Linked DNA regions of Homo sapiens: regions 2, 3, 4, 5, 6 and 7 are each linked to region 1. Evidence: promoter capture Hi-C in 16 types of primary human blood cells and fetal thymus (Javierre and others, 2016). All regions are on one chromosome and are shown on one strand. Each heading gives the region's core, a stretch centred on a gene start or on the middle of the fragment in contact. The rest is flanking DNA. Distances are from core to core; before and after follow the strand shown. Region 1 holds the start of EIF2B4 (eukaryotic translation initiation factor 2B subunit delta). Region 2 has its middle 2.4 kb from the start of EMILIN1. Region 3 overlaps SUPT7L (SPT7 like, STAGA complex subunit gamma). Region 4 overlaps AGBL5 (AGBL carboxypeptidase 5). Region 5 overlaps KHK (ketohexokinase). Region 6 overlaps MAPRE3 (microtubule associated protein RP/EB family member 3). Region 7 overlaps TMEM214 (transmembrane protein 214).

Evidence for each region. Contacts are between HindIII fragments. The CHiCAGO score rates a contact against its expected background, and 5 or more counts as called.
Region 2: a contact is called between a fragment that was not itself captured here and the fragment with the promoter of EIF2B4 in region 1, in 12 of 17 cell types (total B cells, non-activated CD4 T cells, total CD8 T cells and 9 more). The highest score is 11.1, in total B cells.
Region 3: a contact is called between a fragment that was not itself captured here and the fragment with the promoter of EIF2B4 in region 1, in 4 of 17 cell types (endothelial precursors, erythroblasts, megakaryocytes and 1 more). The highest score is 12.7, in endothelial precursors.
Region 4: a fragment that was not itself captured here is called in contact with the fragment with the promoter of EIF2B4 in region 1 in 4 of 17 cell types (naive B cells, total B cells, naive CD4 T cells and 1 more); the score reaches 7.9 in naive B cells.
Region 5: a fragment that was not itself captured here is called in contact with the fragment with the promoter of EIF2B4 in region 1 in 8 of 17 cell types (megakaryocytes, naive CD4 T cells, endothelial precursors and 5 more); the score reaches 8.0 in megakaryocytes.
Region 6: a contact is called between a fragment that was not itself captured here and the fragment with the promoter of EIF2B4 in region 1, in 1 of 17 cell types (total B cells). The highest score is 6.3, in total B cells.
Region 7: a fragment that was not itself captured here is called in contact with the fragment with the promoter of EIF2B4 in region 1 in 6 of 17 cell types (naive B cells, total B cells, total CD4 T cells and 3 more); the score reaches 8.5 in naive B cells.

Annotation. Positions count from the first base shown.
Region 1 is chr2:27,368,654-27,372,135 of GRCh38, forward strand. EIF2B4 (eukaryotic translation initiation factor 2B subunit delta) reads right to left here and starts at 1,685. Exons shown (of 13, transcript NM_001034116.2): 1 at 1,631-1,685; 2 at 1,223-1,266; 3 at 761-896; 4 at 353-559; 5 at 1-80. The coding sequence starts at 1,661. SNX17 (sorting nexin 17) reads left to right here and starts at 1,963. Exons shown (of 15, transcript NM_014748.4): 1 at 1,963-2,153; 2 at 2,616-2,690. The coding sequence starts at 2,091. RefSeq lists enhancers at 931-1,892, 1,366-1,645, 1,866-1,955, 1,893-2,854, 1,976-2,035 and 1 more. The HindIII fragment of the contact is 1,836 bases long and covers 1,028-2,863 here.
Region 2 is chr2:27,074,420-27,077,924 of GRCh38, forward strand. No RefSeq gene overlaps it. Among named protein-coding and RNA genes, the nearest start is that of EMILIN1, 2.4 kb to the right of the region's middle. The HindIII fragment of the contact is 3,346 bases long and covers 1-2,933 here.
Region 3 is chr2:27,654,764-27,658,248 of GRCh38, forward strand. It overlaps SUPT7L (SPT7 like, STAGA complex subunit gamma), which reads right to left. Exons shown (of 6, transcript NM_014860.3): 4 at 2,582-2,906; 5 at 602-839. Among named protein-coding and RNA genes, the nearest start is that of SUPT7L, 7.1 kb to the right of the region's middle. The HindIII fragment of the contact is 2,985 bases long and covers 618-3,485 here.
Region 4 is chr2:27,056,024-27,059,386 of GRCh38, forward strand. AGBL5 (AGBL carboxypeptidase 5) reads left to right here. Exons shown (of 15, transcript NM_021831.6): 7 at 1-115; 8 at 600-769; 9 at 1,280-1,415; 10 at 2,377-2,579; 11 at 3,167-3,363. Among named protein-coding and RNA genes, the nearest start is that of AGBL5, 6.0 kb to the left of the region's middle. The HindIII fragment of the contact is 2,679 bases long and covers 404-3,082 here.
Region 5 is chr2:27,091,877-27,095,215 of GRCh38, forward strand. KHK (ketohexokinase) reads left to right here. Exons shown (of 8, transcript NM_006488.3): 2 at 456-572; 3 at 2,924-3,058. Among named protein-coding and RNA genes, the nearest start is that of KHK, 6.8 kb to the left of the region's middle. RefSeq lists enhancers at 733-1,318, 1,319-1,904. The HindIII fragment of the contact is 2,143 bases long and covers 779-2,921 here.
Region 6 is chr2:26,972,343-26,975,600 of GRCh38, forward strand. All of the region lies in intron 1 of MAPRE3 (microtubule associated protein RP/EB family member 3), which reads left to right. Among named protein-coding and RNA genes, the nearest start is that of MAPRE3, 3.3 kb to the left of the region's middle. The HindIII fragment of the contact is 5,007 bases long and covers 1-3,258 here.
Region 7 is chr2:27,034,525-27,037,631 of GRCh38, forward strand. It overlaps TMEM214 (transmembrane protein 214), which reads left to right. Exons shown (of 17, transcript NM_017727.5): 3 at 611-761; 4 at 1,070-1,204; 5 at 1,446-1,528; 6 at 1,963-2,068; 7 at 2,181-2,262; 8 at 2,553-2,654; 9 at 3,037-3,107. Among named protein-coding and RNA genes, the nearest start is that of TMEM214, 3.1 kb to the left of the region's middle. The HindIII fragment of the contact is 4,998 bases long and covers 1-3,107 here.

The DNA of each region.
Region 1 (3,482 bases), core at 435-2,934:
CTGTTGACGCTCTGGTTTTTTAACAAGCCTTCTCAGAAGTAGGTCATCAACCTGAGGGTACTCAGGGAGACGCTTCACTCCTGAAAGATAATCATCATGTTTTCAGGACACTGTAGGTCTTGAAATGTGTAATTTGCTCTTAGGGTATAAGGGGCATCAAGAAAAACAGGATGAGGTGGAGAAAACGGGAGAATAGGGTAGAAAAGGAAATAGGGATAGGATAATGGGGTTGCAGGAACAATTCAGAACTCTGGGTCCCAAGAATGAGAGGGGAGAGCTGTTTTACTATTGGGCAGCCTGAGCTGGCGTTATAATTAGGAGTAAGGGAGGTCTTAAAATGAAGGGAAGATACCTGAGGGGGTTTCTCCAGCTGTGCTGGGGCTGGCCTTAGGAGGTGGTCCTCCTTGTTCCCCTTTTCTTGCCTGTTTCAGGGCCCGCTCGGCCTCCTGCTTGGCTCGACGCTCAGCCCGAAGTTCGGCCTTACTCCGACCAGCTGGAACTTTCTCCCGAGGAGTGCCCAACTGAATGCCCGATTCTGGCAGTTCTCTGGTTGGGCCTACTAAAAGCATTAAAAAAAAAAATGCCCAAGCTGCAGGCAGGTGATATCCGTGCCCCAGCTAAAACTAGCTTCTCTCCTTGTAAACCTCTTTGCTTTACACACTTGCTCAAATCAACTTTGTCCTGTCTCTCCCTTATCTCTCCCACCACATCCCTCTACCAGCTCCACACCCCAGCCCTTTAAAAGAGACCCCTCACTCACCTTGACATTGGGCTGCAGATACAGCAGAGCCAGTCTCTGGTTCTGCCCCCTTTTCTTCCTTCCGTTTCTTCTTCTGCTGTTTCTTTTCCTTCCGAAGCTGCAGCTTTTCTTCTTTGGTCATTTCCCTCCCCACTGCCTGAGACACAGACATAGGATACTGCTCTTCCCCAACAATTCCAAAGGGGAACAAATACTATTGGATGCTTACAAGATTTCCACATGGTTAAATCCCTAGTTCTTCCTAACTTCCACAAGCTACCTGTTGCAAGCTTACATCCACAGAGGCTGACGTTTCTCCTCCAGGGACAGAATCATATATCCCTAGGGTTGCAAGACCTCTGTAAAATCTCCTGGCTTTACTGAGAAATAAACCGACACGGGATGGGAGCTGGGGCGGAATAAAGCTGGCACAGCCTCCTGCGTAGCGCTTGGCAGGCGGCTTGGGAGGGAAGCCTCACTTACCCCAGGCCCAGGGGGAAGCTCCGCCTTCATCCCGGATCCCGAGTCTGCATCAGAAAACAGGGCACAAAGTGAGCCAGAGAGACTCCGGGAGGGTTTGGGGGCACGAGTACTCGGCGCAGCCGGCTGCTGGGTTGGCATGACCACGGATCCGCCGGCAGGCGCGAGGCGAGCCAGGGATCCGCGTGGGGACGCACTGCGCGGCGGATCAAAGGAATGGAGGGGTCACCGACCCTCCTCACAGCAACCAGCCGGTGCGCGGCGCGGGACTGCGCTCGAGACTGTGTAGACCGGAGCCCAGCGTGGCGCTGGAACGGAGCGGCGGGGCCCAAAGGCGCTCAAGGCCCGGCACTAGCTGTCCGGAGCTCGTCGGCTCCGCGTACCAGTAGGCAGGCCCGGCTCTTCACTCACCCTCGCGAACAGCCACGGCCACAGCAGCCATCGCCCTCAGTCCTAGGCTCCGCCCGCCGTGGTCACGGAGCCGCCCCGCTGCCTCGCTCCGCGGCTGCAGGGTCCACAGCGCCACCTGGGCTGGAGGCTGAGCCGCAGAAGCGAAGCGCGCAGCCCCAATCGGACTACAATTTCCGACGGGCCCCGAGGCCCCGCCCCGCACTACGGGTTGCAATGAGGGCCAACTCCACTTTGGGCTCCCTATCCGGACAGGTGGCTCTTGCCCTTTAGACTACAGTTCCCAGCATGCCCAGGCGATTGCGTCCCAGAACCGACGTCCCACCGCCTTCCCACATCGGATCGCAGGGCTCCCAAAATGGCGAGTGAGGCTGCGGGGACTCGCTGAGCAGCGGAGGGGGAGCGTGCAGAGCCGCTGCGGCCCTCACAGTCCGGAGCCCGGCCGTGCCGTGCCGTAGGGAACATGCACTTTTCCATTCCCGAAACCGAGTCCCGCAGCGGGGACAGCGGCGGCTCCGCCTACGTGGTGAGGAGCGGCCGGAGCCGAGCCGGGCCGGGCAGGGGCGGGGATAACGGGCCCGAGCCATCTCGGAGCGGCCTCTGAGGCCTGACCGCCACCCTTCGGGCCTGGTCCTGGGCCGCCGACTCCCGACGGCCTCTCTGGGAGCTTATCTCATGTGTGTGATTCGTGCAGTGGTCGCCCGAGCTCCTGTAGGCCCTTAGGCCGGGTCGCTTCCCCGAGCTAGGCCGCAGCTGCCCTGGTGGGCGTCACTGGCCTCTTGGGCAGTGAGACTGCAACACAAGCGTCCGAATTTCCCCCGGACTGGCTCTTCAGCTTTGGGACTTGGCCCTGGCGAAAACAAGCGAACTATCCCTCGGGAGATTAGCGCGTTACTCCGGCGAGTTGCCAGGCAACTTCCGGCCAGGGTTCTCAGGGGGGTTGCGCAGACCGCAACCCTAAAATGCTTGACTACTTTTGTGTCCTCAGGCCTATAACATTCACGTGAATGGAGTCCTGCACTGTCGGGTGCGCTACAGCCAGCTCCTGGGGCTGCACGAGCAGGTGGGACTAGCACCCCTGCCTTGAGACAGCTTCAAGCCCTTCCCTACACGTGGACATCAGTGTCTCCCTTTACCCGCTCTTCTTGTTCCCGTAGGCTGTAGTTCCCCTTTAATCACTGCCACAGGGTAGGGCCCTGGTTTATCTTGTCTGACATTTCCGGGAACTCCCTAAGAAGCTTAATGTCCGCGCAACAACTGCTCCTTCCTGTTCTTATATTCTGGTTTTCTGTCCAGTCTTACTGCTCTAGTAGCCTTTACCCCTGCATGGACAAACCAACCCCTCCCCCCACTACCTCCACCCAGGCTGTCAAAGCACATTCCTTCTGTCATCTGAGCGGCAACTTGAAATTCTTTTCCCTGCTTATACAAACGATTCACCGATTTCCTTTTGTGTTCTTCGGCTCATTTCAGTGTGTTTAGCTGTGCCAATTATCGTTATGTATCTGTGATGCAATGTTTCTCCTCCTTCCTTACCAGATCTTAAACTCTATTTAACTCAGTAGAGCTCCACTGATAATTAGTTGTGCAACCCTGAACAAGTTACCTGATATCTTTTTTTGGGACGGAGTTTCTCTCTTGTTGCCCAGGCTGGAGTGCAGTGGCACGATCTCGGCTCACTGCAACCTCTGCCTCCTGGGTTCAAGCGATTCTCCTTCCTCAGCCTCCTGAGTAGCTGGGATTACAGGCGGCTGCCTCCACACCCAGCTAATTTTTGTATTTTTAGTAGAGAGGGGTTTCACTATGTTGGCCAGGCTGGTCTCAAACTCCTGACCTCAGGTGATCCACCCACCTT
Region 2 (3,505 bases), core at 11-2,510, 290 kb before region 1:
GTGATGCGATCTCAGCTCATTGTAACCTCTGCCTCTCAGGTTCAAGTGATTCTCCTGCCTCAGCCTCCTGGGTAGCTGGGATTACAGGAGTGTGCCACCACACCCGGGTAATTTTTGTATTTTTAGTAGAAACAGGATTTCACCATGCTGGCCAGGCTGGTCTCCAACTCCTGACCTCAAGTGATCCGCCTGCCTCGGCCTCCAAAAGTGCTGGGATTACAGGCGTGAGCCACTGTGCCAGGCCCCAAATCATATTATTCCCCCTTTTTCCCTCCCAATATTCAGTCCTCTGACAGAGAGGCTAGACATAAAATGCTCCTTATTGCTGGTGCCCACGGCTGTCCTGACCCTGGTCATGAACTCTTGCTCAGTCAGTGAAGCTGAATGAATGAGTTCATTGCCATGTAGGGCCAATTGGCACTAGATGCTTGGAAATTACCCACCTTGGAGAGGTTGTAAAATAGATCATGTCCTAGTGCCACCAGCAACTTAGCTTTCTGGGGGGTCAGGAACTCTTACCAATTGCTTTGGAAATTTATGGCTGCCTGCCAGTACCACCACCAGCATGTCACTGCCACCATCACCACTACCACTGCACTCTAACTTTAGGCTCCATTGCACCCTGCTTGCCCACTCAAGCCAGCAAGGGGAAGCATCCTCCCTGGTGAACTCAGAGCCACTGATATGTTTGTGATTTCACAAACATTCATGACAGCTCCTAGGTCTCGTCTCCTAATTACATAAAGGCAAATGAAATGCAACCTACTGCAACTATATTTCAAAGCCAACATTTTTCACTGGATACACTTAAATTATACAATAGATTTTTGAATTTCAGAGGGTAGGAGAGGGAATGGGTAACAATTGGGCAGTGACAAGATGGCTGGGGTGACTTTTCAGGTTGCCAGAGGCTTCCTAAGGGTGAAGAGAGGGAGAAGAGCAGAGAGAGAAAACCCATAGCAGCAGCTGGGGCAATCTGGAGGGGAAGTGGGTTGGCTTCCTGCCAGGGCCAGAGCCAGAGCCTAGAGACCAGGGACAAAGCTGCAACCTTCCACCGAAAACTTCTTTGAAATCGGGATCTCCTGTGAACATTTCCTTCAAATCTCCCTGTGTGCTGATCCCCAGGGCTCTAAGGGGCAACTACAAATTTCCATTTCTGTTTGTTCCAGCATTTACTTTCACCAACCACCACCCCCCTTTTTTTTTTCTGAATCAGTCTCACTCTGTTGCACAGGCTAGAGTGCAGTGGCGTGATCTTGGCTCACTGCAGCCTCCGCCTCCTGGGCTCAAGTGATTTTCGTGCCTCAGCCTCCTGAGTAGCTGGGATTACAGGCACACACCACCACACTGGCTAATTCTTGTATTTTTAGTAGAGACAGGCTTTCGCCATGTTGGCCAGGATGGTCTCGAACTCTTGACCTTATGGGATCCACCCACCACGGCCTCCCAAAGTGCTGGGATTACAGGCATGAGCCATCGTGCCTGGCCTAATTTTTGTATTTTTAGTAGAGATGGGGTTTCACCATTTGGCCGGGCTGGTCTCAAACTCCTGACCTCAAGTGCTCTTCCCACCTCAGCCACCCAAAGTGCTAGGATTACAGGCGTGAGGCACCACACCCCGCCTGACCCTGTCTTTTCACAAACATTTCTCTTAGCCATCAAGGTCACATTCTGGGTCATAGGACATCAGAGGCAAGATGGTTCAGAGTTACATTGATGATTTGATGGCATTCATTCTCATGGCTTCCACCTATTGCCCTGCACATGTTGGAAGAATCAGTGGCCCACCATTGCTAACAATCCTAGACACTGGTTTCCACTAGGATGTGTTACTCTCATCTTAAATTCAGTATCTTCAAACTACGATCACTTTTCTTTCCTCCAAACCTGCTCTCTTCCCGACTTCCCCATCCTGGCTCAAATGCTGGAATCTTCCCTCGTGTCTCCCTTCATCTGGTCCCTCATTACTCAGGCAGTCACCAAGCCTCATTACTCAGGCAGTCACAAAGTTCCCTGCCTATCCATGGTCACTGTCACCACCAGAGCCCAAGTCTGCATCACTTTGCAATGTAGAATTTGGAAGGGACTTTAGATGACACATAGACTCCCAGTGGTGTCATGGGATTTGCTGGGTCATAGTGACAGGAGGAGCTGGGGCTACATTGCCTGTGTTCTGACACCGTATTCAGCGCTCTCACCCACAATACCTTCTTTCGTGTATGTGTATATGCTTCTACTCAAAAACTTGCAATACAACCTCATAACCAGTCATTTGAGCCTCTCCCTAATTTGTCCACAATCTACCTCTCTGAATTTCGGTCCCATTTTTTCCTGACACAAAAAAAAGAGCTAACATTGATTGAGCATTTACCATTTGCCAGACACTGTTCTAGAATGCTTTACATGCACTGACTTACTTAATCCTCACAAAGTGGGATGGAGAGTCCTGTTATTCCTGTGTTACAGCTGAGGAGACTGAGGCAGACCGCTCTTCCTGAGCCTGAAATCTCTCTCCTTGCCTTGTCTCTGTTCTTGACTCCTGCCCCCCACCCCCGCCCCCACCCCAATGCTGTTCAGCTTTTGTCTTTTCCAGCCTCTCCTCTGACTGTCTCCAGCAGCCAGCTGTCTTTTCCCTCCTCCTAGCTGGAACACACATCATCCCTCTGTCCTGCCCCTTGGCACTTTTTCTGTCCTGGCTTGTGACGGTTCTCTGTTTGGGGGCTTGTGTCCCATTCTCCAACAACCTCAGTTGCTCCTTAGTGGACAGCGTCTGGGTCTTACCTATGCCTTTGCTACCTGGGCACCTCCGCAGTGCCTGGCACACAGCATTCTCCTGTCTCCTTTCTGTCTAGTGCTTCTGTTTCTTTCTCCCAAGCATCCCACCAGCTGGAGACCCTGGTCAAGAGCTGCGGGTCAGATGGTGACGGGGACCAAGCTTTTAGATCAAGGTGGCGCAGGTGGAACTTTCAGGTCAGGCTGACGGCTCTTTGCCTGTCACTGAGAGCTATCAGACTTGCCTCCAGGCCAGGGACTGACTTCCTTTGGTGCTCTAAAGATAGGTCCCGATTTACCTCACCCCCACCCTCATCCAGTTATGGCCTGACCATCACCAAAACAAGCCCAGGACCCATTTTCATTTATCCCTTTAAGAAAGGTTCTTTCTCTTCCTGCCCACGTGCCCTCTACCGCTTGACAGAAGCCTGCTCCCCATTGCCAGGTGCTTTTCTTCCTCCTCCTCTTCTTCTTTTTTTTTTTTGAGACAGAGTCTCGCTCTGCCGCCCAGGCTGGAGTGCAGTGGTGTGATCTTGGCTCACTGCAACCTCCTCCTCCCGGGTTCAAGCGATTATCCTGCCTCAGCCTCCTGAGTAGCTGGGATTACAGGCGTGTGCCAACATGCCTGGCTAATTTTTGTATTTTTAGTAGAGATGGGGTTTCACCATGTTGGTCAGGCTGGTCTCGAACTCCTGACCTTGTGATCTGCCCACCTCAGCCTCCCAAAGAGCTG
Region 3 (3,485 bases), core at 860-3,359, 290 kb after region 1:
CACTGTGTTAGCCAGGATGTTCTCGATCTCCTGACCTCGTGATTCGCCCGCCTCAGCCTCCCAAAGTGCTGAGATTACAGGCGTGAGCCACTGCGCCCAGCCGGAAGCCCTATTTCAATGTCTTTCATCTTCAGTTTGTTAGAATACTCTAGCAGGGAAGCCAAACTCTGAGAACATCCTTGAGCAATTAACACTCCCCCATCTATCTGGCAGCTGTCTTATTCAATGAAGTACAAGCATCAGGAAGGACCAATACAGAATACTAAAAATAAAATACTAAAGGAGGAAGGGGATATCTTCCCAACCAGCTGGATCAGCTGAATCAGCCTTGGTAATCAACGTGACAACACATTGCATCTACATCTTAACTAGGGATTATTTTAAAGAATGCCTGTAAAGCTGTGCTAATCCTCTCTTCACTAATTAGAAAGAGAAGAATGCTGGGATCTCTAGATAGGTGAAACTGTATTCGTTTTAGGACTTTCCATTCTGCCCACTGCTGCTTTTGTTCTTCTACCTCTTGAGCTTGATTCCAAAAAGCAAAAAGTACTGAAATTGGCAGATCTCCCAGAATCAAAGTGAGTAAGTTTATTTGTCTTACTTGAAGCCTGTGGTGAAGCTTCAACCTCCAGGTTAGATGGGAAGCGTTCGCTCTGAGCCCCAAGCACTCCCATAGGCAGTGACTGGTCTCCAGAAGCAAGGTCAGCCTCCAGCTCCTCACTGACAGGAAAAGTGATGTCGCTCACAGGTTCCTCCTTGATCTTCACAGGTTTAGCGTCCTCTGTGGCCTTCTCAGGATTGACAATCCTTTCATATTCTTCAGAGAGTTGCTTACTAATCTGTTGGCAAGCAAGAGTCAATTTTCCAAGGAAATGTTAAAAGCAAGTTGGATAGTCAGCTTGTGACGTCCCATGGAAAAGCCAACAGAACATGAATAACAGAATTTTAAAACATTCACTGCCAATGGGAGGGATTTGTTTAAGGTGCTGAGTTTGCATTTATGAGTGATAGAGATATGTAAAGAAAATTGGTTTGGCAGAGAATGTGTATGTCATTAATTAAAAGTTACATAAAGGTAAAAAAATGTGTTAGAACTGGGACAAAAGATTACATTTTTTTGGCTATAAAAATTAACAGTAGGCTGGGCACGGTCATTCACACCTGTCATCCCAGTACTTTGGGAGGCCAAGGTGGGAGGACAACTTGAGCCTCGGAGTCTGAGACCAGCTTGGGCAGTATCTAGTGAGACCCCATCTCTACCAAAAAAAAAAAAAAGCTGGGCATGGTGGTTCACATCTGTGGTCTCAGCTACTTGGAAGGCTGAGGTGGAAGGATCGCTTGTAGTGAGCTGTGATTGTGCCACTGCACTCCAGCCCAGGCAACCCTGTCTAAAAAAAGGGAAAAAAAAGTTGACATATGTATCCTAGGTGAATAATCAATGGTGTGGGAAATCTGGATCACTTAGCAAAGACTTTTTTCTTGGGTGTTAAAAATTCCTAATCATATTTTAGACCTGCAGAAACTGAAACAGTGAACAAATGACTTAAGAGCACAAGGGCTGAAGAGATTAGATATTTCTGGTTCCAAGCAAAATCATCACCCCCCACCAACCCATCCTCCAGGCAATATCATTTTACTCTGTTTTTTTCATAGCACTTAACATTATCCAAAATTGTATTTTTTTGTGTATGTGCTTAGAGACAGGGTCTTGCTATGTTGCCCAGGCTGGTCTTAAACTTCTGGCCTCAAACAATCCTCCCACCTCAGCCTCCCAAGCAGCTATATTAGATATATATATTACAATTCCAGTCAAACCATTATATTAGCTGCTTGAGAGGCTGAGGCAGGAGGATTGTCAGTAGGTCTGTGTTCTCTTTTTTTTTTTTTCAGACAGGGTCTTGCTCTGTCACCCAGGTTGGAGTGCAATGGCACAATCATGGCTCACAGCAGCCTTAACTTCCTGGTCTCAAGTGACCTTCCCACCTCACACTCCCAAGTAGCTGAGACCACAGGCATGAGCTACCATGTCCAGCTAATTTTTATTTTTTAATTTTCTGTAGAGATGGGGTCTCACTATATTGTCCAGGCTGGTCTTGAACTCCTGGCCTCAAGCAATCCTCCCACCTCAGCTTCCCAAGTAGCTGGGATTACAGGCATGTGCCATCATGCCCAGCTCCTGAAATTGTTTTGATTGTTATTTATTGACTTGTGTTTGTCTCCCTTCAAAAACAATGTAAACTCAGGTAACTTAGTAACTGCTGAATCCCACAATGCTCGACTCTCAACAGGCACTCAATAAATACTTGTTGAATAAAATCAGACTAACTGCATTCTCTCAGATTCCATATACTTGTGGATAGTTTCTTCCAGAGGAAGTATCAGTGAATGTGGCCATTCACTGACTAAAGGAGACCCATGGTATTTGGCCAGGAACATCGCTAGGGCCATCATAAAAGTATGTTAAGTTCACTCTGTTCCAAGACTCTGTGCTCTGCACTCTAGACCAAGTGTTGTGGGATCCTGCTGAACACTCCGAGATTGCACAGACATCTGTGCCCACTTTTCAACAGGGTCGCCTCACCTGTAGCATGTAACTGTGATAGTCCTTGATGCGGTGCTGCCAGAACTTCTGGAGGGAGAGCACACTGCCAATACCCACTTCATGGAATACCTGCTCCATCACATCAGGAAAAGGAGTCTGTCCCAGCCGGGCCTCCCGGTCCACAGCAAAACGCAGCAACTTGGTAAACTTAAGGCAATACTCATGTGCCACATCAGTTAGGGTCTCCAGGACACTCTCATTAGCACAGTCAAAGCCCGCGTGGGCCAGGATTGTGGCCACTGCCTGGTAGAGGAGCTGCCGACAGGAGTGCCAGCTGAGTTCAGTCACAGGTTCCCCTTTCCCACTGAAAGTGGAGATACGGTGGTGTTATTAATGTTCTTGCAAAGGGGTGACCCCTCCTGTCTTCCCCAGGAGTTTTACAATTCCAGTCAAGCCACTGGCCTAGCTTTCCAGGGAAATTCCATCCAAGTTACATAGCTCAGTTTCATCCTGCTGCTATCTGGGCATGTCTTAGCAACCCATGGTCATATCTTTGAGCTCCTCCAAAGACATAGTTTGAATAGGCAATACATGTCTATAATACACAATCCAAAAGGATATCTAGTGAAAAGAAAGTTTCCTTCTAGCAACTGTTCAATTTTGATCACTTTTAGGATTAAGTTTAACAGTATAGCCCAGACACTGCTCAATGATGCTCTAATTATTTTACCATAACCTAGTTTTCATACATGCTGGGCAATATATTAATACAAACTTTTAGAAATTCACAGTTCCAATAAAGAGATTCTTCACAGTTCCCAGGAGTTTAAGATTCTTAGATTCTTATAAAGTTACAAGGGACCATTTCAAAACAGGGAAGTCAACTCAATTTTATAAAAGCAATTTAAAACATATATAGCTTACAAAGCATTTTCATCCTATC
Region 4 (3,363 bases), core at 493-2,992, 310 kb before region 1:
TGATACCATCCCCCCCAAAGAGAGTGGCGTTGCTTACTATGTGGACCTGCATGGACATGCTTCCAAAAGGGGCTGCTTCATGTACGGAAACAGCTTTAGTGATGAGAGCACCCAGGTGGGAATCCTAAGAATGTCATGTGAGTGTGAGAAGTGTTACAGGTTAGGAGATGGGGTTAGGCCATGAACAGAAGGAAGATAGCCTTAGGTAGCTTTCTGGAAGGAAGGCCTGTGTAGACTACCTCTGAAAAAGCTTTGAAGGGCCAAGAAGAGATGGCACAGGGGGATAATGTCTCAATTGTTACATCATGACCTTTTATTAAGGAAAGCTAACTGCATTATAGTCTGCTAGAGTCTGGGAATCCAGAGAAGGAAAATTTTGCATTGTTGGAGGGAGGAAGCTAAAAGCTTAAAAAAAAAAGAATTGCTTCCCAACACCTAGAAGTAATGTCAAACTGAGAATTCAGGCAGCACTGATTACTGTTAATGGTTGTGATGGTATCTGCTGTGTATTAAGTCACATGGTCACATACTTGCTATCTCTTCCTTGCACCTTGTCCCTTCTGTCTCTCCTTCTGAGTTGACTTTTCTTCCCCAAACAGGTGGAAAACATGCTATATCCAAAGCTCATCTCCTTGAATTCAGCCCACTTCGACTTCCAGGGCTGCAATTTCTCAGAGAAGAATATGTATGCCCGAGACCGTAGAGATGGCCAGTCTAAAGAGGGAAGCGGCCGTGTTGCAATCTACAAAGCCTCAGGGATAATCCACAGGTTGGGTGGAAGCTGAGATATAGTTGATGAAATAGCTTCCCTAAAGAAAACACCGTAGCTGGGTGTGGTGGTGCATGCTTGTAATCCCAGCTACTGAGGAGGCTGAGGCAGGAGAATCGCTTGAACCTGGGAGGCAGAGGTTGTGGCGAGCCGAGATCGTGCCATTGCACTCCAGCCTGGGCAACAAGAGCGAAACTCCGTCTCAAAAAAAAAACAAAAAACAACACCCAGTTCAGGGTGTTTGAGAGGGAGGGAACCACCTTAGTCTTCTTAAAAGAGAACCTCACAATTAGCATTATTGTCTTTAGTCTAGGACTCTACCTTGGGGGGACTCTCTGGGTATATGGTACAGTACCAAGGTCAGCTGCTAGTTGCTATGGATTATTAGCACTTTCATTTGTGTTCACTTTTTTCCAAGTGATTGCCTCCTTTGACCACCTAAGTTGTCCTCTATGGTTCTGTCCTGGTATCTGTTCAGGCGGGACACTGATAAAGGTCTTTATGTCTTAGCTACACACTTGAATGCAACTACAACACTGGACGCTCAGTAAACAGCATCCCTGCTGCCTGCCATGACAATGGGCGTGCCAGCCCCCCTCCCCCGCCGGCTTTCCCCTCCAGATACACTGTGGAACTATTTGAGCAGGTATGAATACATGGTGTAAGTGGGAAAAGGGAGAAACCTTACAGTCTGGAAAGGCCTTCACTCTTAGTGCCTGACTCTAAGGTCCTTTGAAGAGATATTCATCACTATGGCCGTCTCACCACTATGATTATTTTCCTCAGTTAACAGGAGCATAACTACAACTGTAATAGTATTGAAAGGATGAACAGGCACTATATCTGACCCCACATCACAGAGAATCCCCTAGCACCTCTGAGTCAGATTCTTTGCCTCTGGGCTTGTCTTTCTCATTCTATTGGATTTATTAGTTTCTGGGCTCAAAAGCACCCTGACTGTAGTGGTCTTGATGATTCCCATTATCCTAATAGAAAGAGCTGGCCAGGTGCGGTGGCTCATGCCTATAATCCCAGCACTTTGGGAGGCCAAGGCAGGCGGATCACCTGAGGTCAGGAGTTCAAGACCAGCCTGGCCAATATGGTGAAACCCCATCTCTACTAAAAATACAAAAATTAACTGGGCATAGTGGCACATGCCTATAGTCCCAGCTGCTCAGGAGGCTGAGGCAGGAGAATCACTTGAACCCGGGAGGCAGAGGTTGCAGTCAGCCGAGATCACACGCCACTGTACTACAGCCTGGGCAATAGATCAAGATGCCGTCTCAAAAAAAAAAAAAAGTAGATCTGTAGGTTACAGAAGGGATTCAAACCCCTTTCCTGCTAGGAGAATTCCTTCATGGCACCAGCCAGAAAGAAAGGACACACTTTGCCCCTCATAATGGAAGAGGGCCCCCAAATTGGCGGTAGTTTAGGGAACAGCTCCAAATCCGTTTGCAATAAACAGCCTGGGCACAAAGGTTAGGGCATCCAATGAGCAAATTATAGGTCTGGCCCCTCCTTCCCTTCCACTGTGCTGTGTACCCACCCCAAGGTAGCAGCCTGGATGGGAGGACCAGCATGCTGAGCCAAACTGGACTACCCCACAGGTGGGACGAGCTATGGCCATTGCAGCCCTGGACATGGCGGAATGTAATCCGTGGCCCCGAATTGTACTGTCAGAGCACAGCAGCCTTACTAATCTACGGGCCTGGATGCTGAAACATGTACGCAACAGCCGAGGCCTAAGCAGCACTCTGAATGTGGGTGTCAACAAGAAGAGGGGCCTTCGAACTCCACCCAAAAGTCACAAGTAAGGCCAGCAAAATAGGAGGGAGAAAGGGTAGGACAGTGGGACAGGGCTCTAGAGCTAGGAGTTCCAAGGGATTTATATTCCTTCCATCCTCCTCAAAGTGCCAAATGGCAAATATCTTCAGGGTAAATTAAAATTAGTCAGATTAGTTTATTCTTTTAGAATGGGATCCTCTTCCCTTTTATTCTGAGCTACATACACCTAAGAGATCTGAGTATCAGGCTTGGGATTCACTGCTGCAGAGCCCTGTACAAAATCAAATATAATTGCAGTGGGGCAGGCCTCAGCTTCCAAGGGTTGTGAATGACTGACTGAAGGGAGTTCAAGGGTCAGTGCCAAGGCAGTAGGGGTGAAATTCATTGGGAGATAAAGCTGCTCAGGGATGGCCCTTAAGACATTTTGAGATTAGCTGGTATTCCCCAGGTTAGATACTTCATCCACGGACATGAATTCCTCACTTCTTCCTTGGGATGGGTCCCTGTGCCTTTTTACCCCAGAGGTGAAGCTTTACTGAGCAGCAGATCCTAGGGAAAGCCTTAGGACACAACCTTCCTGGCCCGGGTTAACTGGCATCTGCTTCTTTGCAGTGGGTTGCCTGTCTCCTGCTCCGAAAACACCTTGAGTCGGGCACGAAGTTTTAGCACCGGCACAAGTGCCGGTGGTAGCAGCAGCAGCCAACAAAATTCTCCACAGATGAAGAATTCCCCCAGCTTTCCTTTTCATGGCAGTCGGCCTGCAGGGCTGCCAGGCCTGGGCTCTAGTACCCAAAAGGTCACCCACCGGG
Region 5 (3,339 bases), core at 600-3,099, 280 kb before region 1:
ACAGGGGTAGGTGTAAATGTGATACCTTTGGGAAGAGGCACTTAGTCCCCGAGGTCCTTGGAGTTGCTCCAGCTCTCAAGGAGGAGGCCAAAGGTGCAGCGTCTGGAGCAGCTCTGACTGGGGTGAAAGGTGAGGAGGAGATGACCTGGAGTTAGTGGGTCTCTCGAATAGTGATGGACCCAAGTGAGTGGTTTCCTGTTGCCCTAGGAACAGATGGAAATATTGAAAGGAACTGCTGTCAGCTTGAATTTAGCCTGGGCTGGGGAGGTAGACACCGCTCTCAGCCAAGCTCCTTCCCTTGGCCGGCCTCGGCTGCCCCGGGTACAAAGTGAGACGTCGGCCTAGATGCTTTCTGAGAGGAGTCCCCAGCTGTTACATTCTGTAGGCCCCTATACAGGAGACTGTGCTTGGGATCAGCCTGCTGGGGCTGCAGGGACCCTCCCTGTGCTTTGCAGGTGTTTGTCCCAGAGATGGCAGCGCGGAGGCAACGCGTCCAACTCCTGCACCGTTCTCTCCCTGCTCGGAGCCCCCTGTGCCTTCATGGGCTCAATGGCTCCTGGCCATGTTGCTGAGTAAGTCCAGGAGGGAGAGCCCACTGGGGAAGGCCTGCCTGCATCATTGTGGGAGAAGAAGGATGTATCCACCCTGGGTGGATGGGGGATTAGAAATGGGTTGTGTCCAGCAGAAACGCGGGGAGGGGGCATGGCGGAGCACCAGACGCCCAGCCCTGCCTTGGCGTGGCCTCTCTGCGGTTCGGGGGCTGATGCTGCCCCTGTGAAGCTTTCCTTGCCACAGCTTGTTTCCTGGACACTTCTGGAGCCTGCTTCAGCCTCTTCCTTTCTCCTTCCTTGCTTCCTGCAGACTCTGCGGTGGATGTGCCTTTGCCTTATCTTAAGTCCCTTATCCTGGCCATGCTTGAGGCAGAAGGCAGTTAGGGACACGTGGTACCCATCCTCCCCCAGGTCCAGGCCCACAGTTTCTGTCCCAGTTGAGAGGCAGGGCTGGTGCTCATGTCCCTGTTGTTCACTGAAGCAGTGAGAGTACCCTGTTCAAGGACACCCTGAAGCCACATGCTAAAGCTGGGCTCAGAACCCACACCTCCCAGTTCCCCGGCTGTCAGGGCTATAGCCCTAAATGGCTCATGCACGCCCTCCATGTTGGCTGCTGCAGGGACCTCAGAGCCCTTTGACCCCTGGCGCTGCCGACTCAGCAAGCACTTATCGGGAGGTGAGGCCCACACTTTGCACACTGTGGGCACGGGGGCAGGCTGCCAGGTTGCTGGCCTGTGAAGGGCAGCCCTTTGAACCCTGGTTTGAAGGGGGCTGCTGGCAGAGTCCAACCACCTGAGCTACAGCCAAACTCCCTGCCTTGATGAACTGGCAGGAAGAGAATAGAGGGAGAGAATCTGCCCTGTGAGATGGGACAGGACGGCTCAGAACCAAGGGCTGGTGACTCATTAAACCTCTTTAATAGCTCCTTTCCTCTGAGCTAGAGGCAGGACTGTGGCTCTGGCTTAGGATGGTCGACTCTCCTTTACATAGCAATCAGGCCAATGGGTGGTTTATTCAGAATTCTCCCCATGTGCTCGACAAACATTTAGAGAGCACCTACCATGTCCCAGGCACTGGGGTGCGAAAGTTATTTGGCAAACCAAACCATATTTCCAATGCTTTGGGAAAGTTACTATTTAAAGGAGTTGTAAGTCAAGGGATGATGCCCTGACTTGGTATCTTTATGCAAATCTGTATTATCCAGCTTTGGTGTTGCTGAAAGCGGGCTCTGGCCAGGTGAGAAAAGCCAGGATGGTGGCTGGACTGCTGGGCATAATTGCCAGTTCTTGAGCACAGAACAATGCCTGTCCATAGAGGGCTGGAAGGGCTGGGGCTGACCTCCTTGTCCTTGCCCCTGGGCTCACTCTGCATGGAGGGCATTCCAGGAGAGAGTTCTGGACCAGGCCCATACTGAGTGGCATCAGGCACGGGGAGCCAGCTGATTGCCCAGGAGGGTTCACCTGGCTGCAGGAGGACAAAGCAGTGAGCTGGCTCACCAAGGCAGCACCACTTCCAGGCTGGGCCTCCTGGAGGCAGGCAGAGAGTGAGAGGAATCACAGCATTAGGACTGGGAGGGACTGAGAGAGGACAGCACCCTGGATGAGCTTGTGGAGGACAGCTGGGGGCAAAGTATTGCCTTGGAGATTAATTATTAATCCTGTTTGGGCATTGCAGGAAACAAGCCACGGTGCCCCCACATGCTTGGTTCAAACAGTGTACAGGTTCTAGGGTCCTGTCTAGCTTTATGAACAGGAGCAAATCCTTTCCAGCATGAGTTGGACTGAAAAACAGAGTCAGGATCGGAGCATGCTTCAGCCAAGACCTAAAAGGATGGCCCTTAGTGTTTCTCTCTCTGAGCTCCAGGCTCTGCACTCCTGCATCTCCTGCCCTGTTGCACTGCCTGTGGCAAGACTGTGATTCCCAGTTCTCTCCCAGCCCCCTTTGCTTGCACCCCTGCCTTTCAGGGTCCCTAGTGGCCCTGCCAGCTACCCTCCAGTCCCCAAAACCCTTGTCGAACTGCACCCCCTTCGGGTTACTCCGCCCTAGCAGTTTTGTCCTGGATGACCTCCGCCGCTATTCTGTGGACCTACGCTACACAGTCTTTCAGACCACAGGCTCCGTCCCCATCGCCACGGTCATCATCAACGAGGCCAGTGGTAGCCGCACCATCCTATACTATGACAGGTTTGTACAACTGTCTGTGCCTTGCCAGCTGCTGCCGCCGCCACCAAAACTCCCAGAACAGGACTCTTCTTCTCTTAGAGGCTCGTGTGCTCCAGCACCCTCTCCCCACTCCTTTTGGAGGTCCAGACCACTTCCAGGCTCTAATCTGTGTCTCCTTGCCCTTTTCCTGGCCCGGCCTCCACCCTAAGCTTCCTGGTGGCCGACTTCAGGCGGCGGGGCGTGGACGTGTCTCAGGTGGCCTGGCAGAGCAAGGGGGACACCCCCAGCTCCTGCTGCATCATCAACAACTCCAATGGCAACCGTACCATTGTGCTCCATGACACGTAAGGCCCCCGGGCCTCGCCCTGCTACAACCCACCAATCAGTTGGCTCAATCAGTTCCCTCACTCGCCACCATGGGCATCCCAACTGCCCCCCTCTGTGGCTTCTGTGTACCAGAAGTTGCTCCCCTGCCAAAATGTCCAGTGATTTCCTAATTGCTTTCAATTAGGGGAAAAGTGAGGTGGGAAGGGATGGGCTTTGCTGTGCCTGGTGACTTGGCCTTGGTCAACACCAAAGAAGGGCAGGCAGGCCTATATAAACTGTAATTTATTAAGTGATTCCT
Region 6 (3,258 bases), core at 737-3,236, 400 kb before region 1:
CATGGCCTATTGGCAGCCTCCTCATAGCCACTCCCTGCCCCCATGCCCATCAGATTAGTTTACAGTAGCCAAGACGGCTGTCGCCCTAGTTTTAAACATAGAGATGAAGTTCAGGAAAACTATAGCCCCCATCCAGCAGGGCAGTTTCTTCTGTTTCGAATGCCAGACTGGGGTTTGGTGGGATGCACCTGCCTGTGGTGCAGTGGGAACTGTGGGGCCTGAGAGTGGCATTCCTTCTGTGTGGTCCTGTGTCACATAGCTCACCAAAATACCCGAGCAGGGCAGGAGCAGACAGCTGTACTGGAGAGCTGCTCCTCCTGGGCTGAGTGTATTTTGGGAATCAGCGATATTACTGGGGTGGAGGGTTGTGAATTAAGGAGGAAGAAAATGTGTCAAGGCTAGATAGATCAGGAGGGTGTAAGTAAAATGTTCCTTTCCAGTTTGCTATGGGATAGTACATTTTCAGAGGATCAGAGTAGTTTTTATATGGATTAATTTGCCTTTGAAATCCATACCAGTGTTTTATGAGATAATGATGGAATGCCTTTTAAACTGCTACTATGAGGAAACAGGACTAATACTTGTCTTATACATTGCCTATCCAGCTGTTGCTGAATGTAATTGTTAAGATCAAGGAGAGGGACATGATTTGAACCAAGTTAGACCTAAATCTATGTAATGGTATTGAGGTTTTGTAGGACTGTATTCTTGATTCTAAGACACACCAGCAATTTACCAATAGCTTTTAGGTAAAATAATCTAATGCTACCAGATCAAAATATATATGCTGATTCCAAGGTGCATCCTCATTTTAGAAACATTAAAACCCTCGGGAAATGGCAAGACTTGAGGGAGGGATTTGTGAATCTTGGAACTGAGAAAGAATGCTATTGATAGTATTCCTGTGTGATGATGCCGTTTCTGACCTACCGTCCTGAGAGTGCATGCATTGTGAAGCTGAGTTTCTTCTAGTCCTTCCTGCACGCCAGCACACATTGTGGGGTTGTATTTGTAAGATGACTGGCTGGAGTTAGGCATAGTAGGAGGCTATTGAACGGAGGAAAGTTCCCATATGAGAATCCAACCCAGGGTCTTAATGTGGTACTCTCCAGAAACTGAGCCAACTAACTGGCAGCAAACGTCTTATGAGCTATTCCTGAATTTAGCCGAGTAACATTTGTCAGAAGCCGAACAGAAAATATAGTTTTTTTTTTTTTTTTTTTGAGACGGAGTCTCGCTCTGTCGCCCAGGCCGGACTGCGGACTGCAGTGGCGCAATCTCGGCTCACTGCAAGCTCCGCTTCCCGGGGTTCACGCCATTCTCCTGCCTCAGCCTCCCGAGTAGCTGGGACTACAGGCGCCCGCCACCGCGCCCGGCTAATTTTTTGTATTTTTAGTAGAGACGGGGTTTCACCTTGTTAGCCAGGATGGTCTCCATCTCCTGACCTCATGATCCACCCGCCTCGGCCTCCCAAAGTGCTGGGACTACAGGCGTGAGCCACCGCGCCTGGCCAGAAAATATAGTTTTTTAAAACAGAATGCATCTGCCCTGATTTGCTTACAGATACATTTGTAAAGGTCCCAAGGCACATGTCTCCCTCGCTTAGGATGTTAGCACTGGAGGTGACCCCAGATGGTATAGTTTAATGCCCTCATTTCTAAAGTTGACACAAGACACCAAGAGTTAAATGACTTACCTAAGGTCACCCAACCCATGCAGAACGTATGTAAAAACACTTTGTAAACTGTGTACACTAGGCAGATGAATGTTGGTGGTTATTAGTGGCTGAGTCAGGATTAGATCTCCAGATTTCCAGACTAGAGTTATTCTTCAACACCACATTGCCTCATCCCTCATAATGTTCCAAAGGGTTTTAATAAAAATAATTTAGTAGTCCGTAATTAGCCCTGTAGGCAAGGGCTTGTTTTGTCATCTGAGATGCTGCACAGCCAGGCAAAATTTTGTGTCAAACTGTCTAACTAAATATTTATTCTTGCCACTTTAAAAATAATATTTTTTATCACACATTCTGACTTCAGGAAGGTCTTTCTTTTTTTAATTTGCATCAACTAACAGAAAAGCAAATGTGAAGTTGGGTATTTGAAGTCTTTTCTACTTCTTATCTGTGAGACTGCCGCATTCCAGAAAGCAAGGTGGAGAGGCAGATGGGGCTGAGAGGAGGAGCGTGCACATTGGGCAGCTGCGGGCTTATCTTCCACCTCTCAGAATGGAACCTTTTGTAGTTTCTGGGAGCCATAAGGACTTCTAAACCCTCTCCTTGGGAAGCGCGGAGGCAGCCTGACCTCTGGAAGCAGGCAGACTTGAGTTCAGATCCCCATCCAGCCATCTCCTGGCTGTGTGGCCTTGGGTGAGTTATGTTACCTCTGAATGCCAGTTTCCTCATTTATAACCCTGGAATAATAACTATCTGTTTTACAGGGTTGTTGTGAAGATTAAATGAAAGGGAGTATGTAGAGTGCTTGCTTCATAAGAAATAGCAATGATTATTTTATATTGACTAAAGCATAAAATAGCAAATAATGGTTTCAAAATTGTTTCGTGATTTAGGTCCATCTTGGACTCTCAGTTTTGTAGCCCCCATCTCTCAGCACCCCTCTCGGTATTTGACACGAACAGAGAAAAGGTTTGTACCGGGAAGACCCGGCACTTGCATTATTATTTCAACTGCCAAAACCGGAGTATATGAAATGTATCTTTGCTCCATGTATTCAGCCAACCTGAAAGACTGGCAGGACAGGAGCATTTGACTTTAGGAGGCACAGATGTGGTGTGCTTGGGTGTGTGGTGGGGGTGGCTAGTTCTCCAGCAGGGAGGCCAGTCTGGGGAGTGGTCTTCATTTGAAATAGAAAAGCTGCTGAGCTCTTGCTTGTGAGGGACACACATGTGGTCTTTATTGACTTCCTCAACTGGTAGAGGCATAGATTTCATCGGTGACTTTGCTAAAATCAGCTTCTGCATCCGTGAGATCCAGGGGGCAAGGGAAAGGAGCTATTCATCTTAAGAGGGAAACCTTGCCAGTGAGCAGAGGTAAAGGGAGGTCATTTTGGATGGAGAGAATTACAGACTGGCTCAAGGCAGAAACTACTGAGTAATTAAAGAACCAGGGCAAGCTGTTCAGGTGCAAGAGCAAAAGTGAATTTAAATTCCTAGATAAATTTCAGTAGGGAAGGAAATACCCATGTATAGACATCTAAAGATTGAAAAGAAACGCAATAATGTTTACCTCTGGGAGGTGGG
Region 7 (3,107 bases), core at 466-2,965, 330 kb before region 1:
ATGGAGAAACTGGTTATGATTCTCTGTCCTATGGAAATACTGATCTTTCATTTTCTGTCTTGTCCTCTGTTTTCCTCTTTTTTTTTTTTTTTTTTTGAGTTAGAGTCTCCCTCTGTCGCCCAGGCTGGTGTGCAGTGGTGTGATCTCAGCTCACTGCAACCTCTGTCTCCTGCCTCAGCCTCCCAAGCAGCTGGGATTACAGGCGTCTGCCACCACGCCTGGCTAATTTTTGTATTTTTAGTAGAGATGGGGTTTCACTACGTTGGCCAGGCTGGTCTTGAACTCCTGACCTCAGGTGATCCGCCCACCTTGGCCTCCCAAAGTGCTGGGATTACAGGCGTGAGCCACCGCGCCTGGCCCTCTGTTTTCCTCTTGAACATGTGGAGGGCCTGAGAGGATAGGGCCTGAGATCAGCATTTTCAGCTGTCCTGTTCCATTCTTAAAGATGTAGGTACAGCAGAATTGCAGCATTCCATGTTCTTATGCTTAAAAATGGAATCCCTTCTTCCTACTGCCACCTAGTTCAACCATTTTCCCACCCCTACCCCATTTCTTTACTCCCTCACTCACAACTCGCCATGGTGGGGGGTTGGGGGATTGTCCCTGGCAGCTGGATGTGGCAGACCTGCAGAAGGAACTGGACAAGAGCCAGAGTGTGTTCTCTGGAAACCCATCCATATGGTTGAAGGACCTGGCCAGCTATCTCAACTACAAGCTACAAGCTCCTCTAAGTGAACCCACGCTGAGCCAGCATACTCATGGTAAGTCCTTCCAGCTTCCTCAAGCTCAGACAAGTTCAAATAAATTCAAAAAGGGTGGTATAACAGATCCCAGTGCCCCACACTGTCCTGATTTCCATGGGTGATTTGGGCTGGTCTCAAATCATCGTGACTGTGAATGTTTCTGGGCCTCATTCTGTGATCCTCCCTCTGGGCCTCCTCAGAGGAAGGATCCCAGCCTCAGTGCAGGGGCCTTTGCCTCCACTCACCATTCCCAGGGAGAGCACCACAGTTCTCAGAGCTGATGGGTGTCTGGTCCTAGCACTCACATTGAGGCCTATGGGCCTTAGATTATCCCTACAGCCTGGTGAGCCGGGAGCTACGTGGGATCATCCGAGGGCTGCTGGCGAAGGCAGCAGGGTCTCTGGAGCTCTTTTTTGACCACTGTCTGTTCACCATGTTGCAAGAGCTGGATAAGACACCAGGTGAAAGGGGCACGGGAGGGATGACCATCTTGGGAGCCTCCTCCTTTTTTTCCTGCTTCCAGTACCACTCAGTGGTTCTGTTTCCAGCAGAGAAATGTGCTAACCTTAACACTTTTTGGAAAGTGTGGAGGAAGTTAGGAGTCAGTGGACCTGGGGCCTGGGCTCACCGCTGACAAATGGGAGATTTCAGGTTTGGGATGCCAAATAATGTGAGTAGGTGTGAGAATGTGTATCTCTCCAGGGGAGTCACTACATGGTTACCGCATCTGTATCCAGGCCATCCTGCAAGACAAGCCCAAGATTGCCACGGCAAACCTAGGCAAGGTGAGCTCTCAGTGATGGTGGGGATGCTAGGAAGCTAGGACTGGGGAGGCTGGGCAGAATCTATGTTGTTGGACTCAGGTTTGGGATAGTGGAAGACCTGTAAGCCTAGTAATAATGGGTAACACTATTAGCACCTATCCTGTGTGTGTGCTCTGGAAACATAGGAGCAAGGTACTGCTATTATTTCCCATTTTTATAGATGAAAAGATTGAGCCACAGAGGAGTTCAGTAACTTTCCTAGGCTCAGTCATCCAGTAAATGGCAGAGTATGGGCGAAGCCCACAAACAGAACCTGCACCACGTGGCCATAGTGCTCCACTCTTGCTCGGCCTGTCCTCCCTCTTCCAGTTGACATCTCCCTTCCCTCCTGGCTTTGGGGGGTGCTCCTGGTGTTTTGTCCTATCCCAATCTGCCTTCCCCACCGGTCTCCTCAGTTCCTGGAACTGCTGAGGTCCCACCAGAGCCGACCAGCAAAGTGTCTCACCATCATGTGGGCCCTGGGTCAAGCAGGTTTTGCCAACCTCACCGAGGGACTGAAAGGTAACAGGGAAATAGGGAAGAAAGAGGGAGGGTCTCGGAGCTGGAAAACTCCTCTTTGATGCCCCCAGTAGGTGCAAGCCTGAGGCCTCCCTCGTGACTTTTACCCCTGCAGTGTGGCTGGGGATCATGCTGCCTGTGCTGGGCATCAAGTCTCTGTCTCCCTTTGCCATCACATACCTGGATCGGCTGCTCCTGTGAGTAATGGGAGGGCAGCAAGGGGAAGGCTCAGGGTGTCCCAAGTGGCTGTTATAGCAAAATGGGAGGCTATGATCTTGGTCTCCATGGATATGAGGAAAATCAGGACCAGCTTCTCCCACCACCTTAGAATGTGATGGTGAGGAAGGAAGAAGAGGGAGCTATTAAGGGCTGGCAGATGGGGTAGAGTTTATACCCTTTTTCCTAGATGTTGGCTTAGCTGGGGTCATGGCCAAAACAGCTGGCATGGGTGGTGGTGTCCAGCGAGCCTGTTTCTTCATCCCCACAGGATGCATCCCAACCTTACCAAGGGCTTCGGCATGATTGGCCCCAAGGACTTCTTCCCACTTCTGGACTTTGCCTATATGCCGAACAACTCCCTGACACCCAGGTAGGACTGCTCTGGGGCACACCTGCTGAGAAGGGACCACAGCACCAGAACCACACTACATATTCCCGTCTCTCCTTCCCCAGCCATCCTAGATCTGAGATTTGCAACCTGGAAGTTCAAGAGTAGGTTTCAAGGGAACAGTGACCCCTTGAAATTATATGGACCCTTGAGTGTGATTGGCATATGGGCATTTTCTTAGGGATAGGGTCCATGGCTTTCAACAGATTTCCAAGGAGTCTCTGAGTAAAAAGATTCAGAGCCATTGCAAGGTCCTCAGTGGCTATTCCCCACAGGCAGGCATGGGCTCTGAAGCAAGCAAAAGGTTCATATCATACAGCTCCACTTATAGCTTATGCCTGTCTTTCCTCCCCACCCCACCCAGCCTGCAGGAGCAGCTGTGTCAGCTCTACCCCCGACTGAAAGTGCTGGCATTTGGAGCAAAGCCGGATTCCA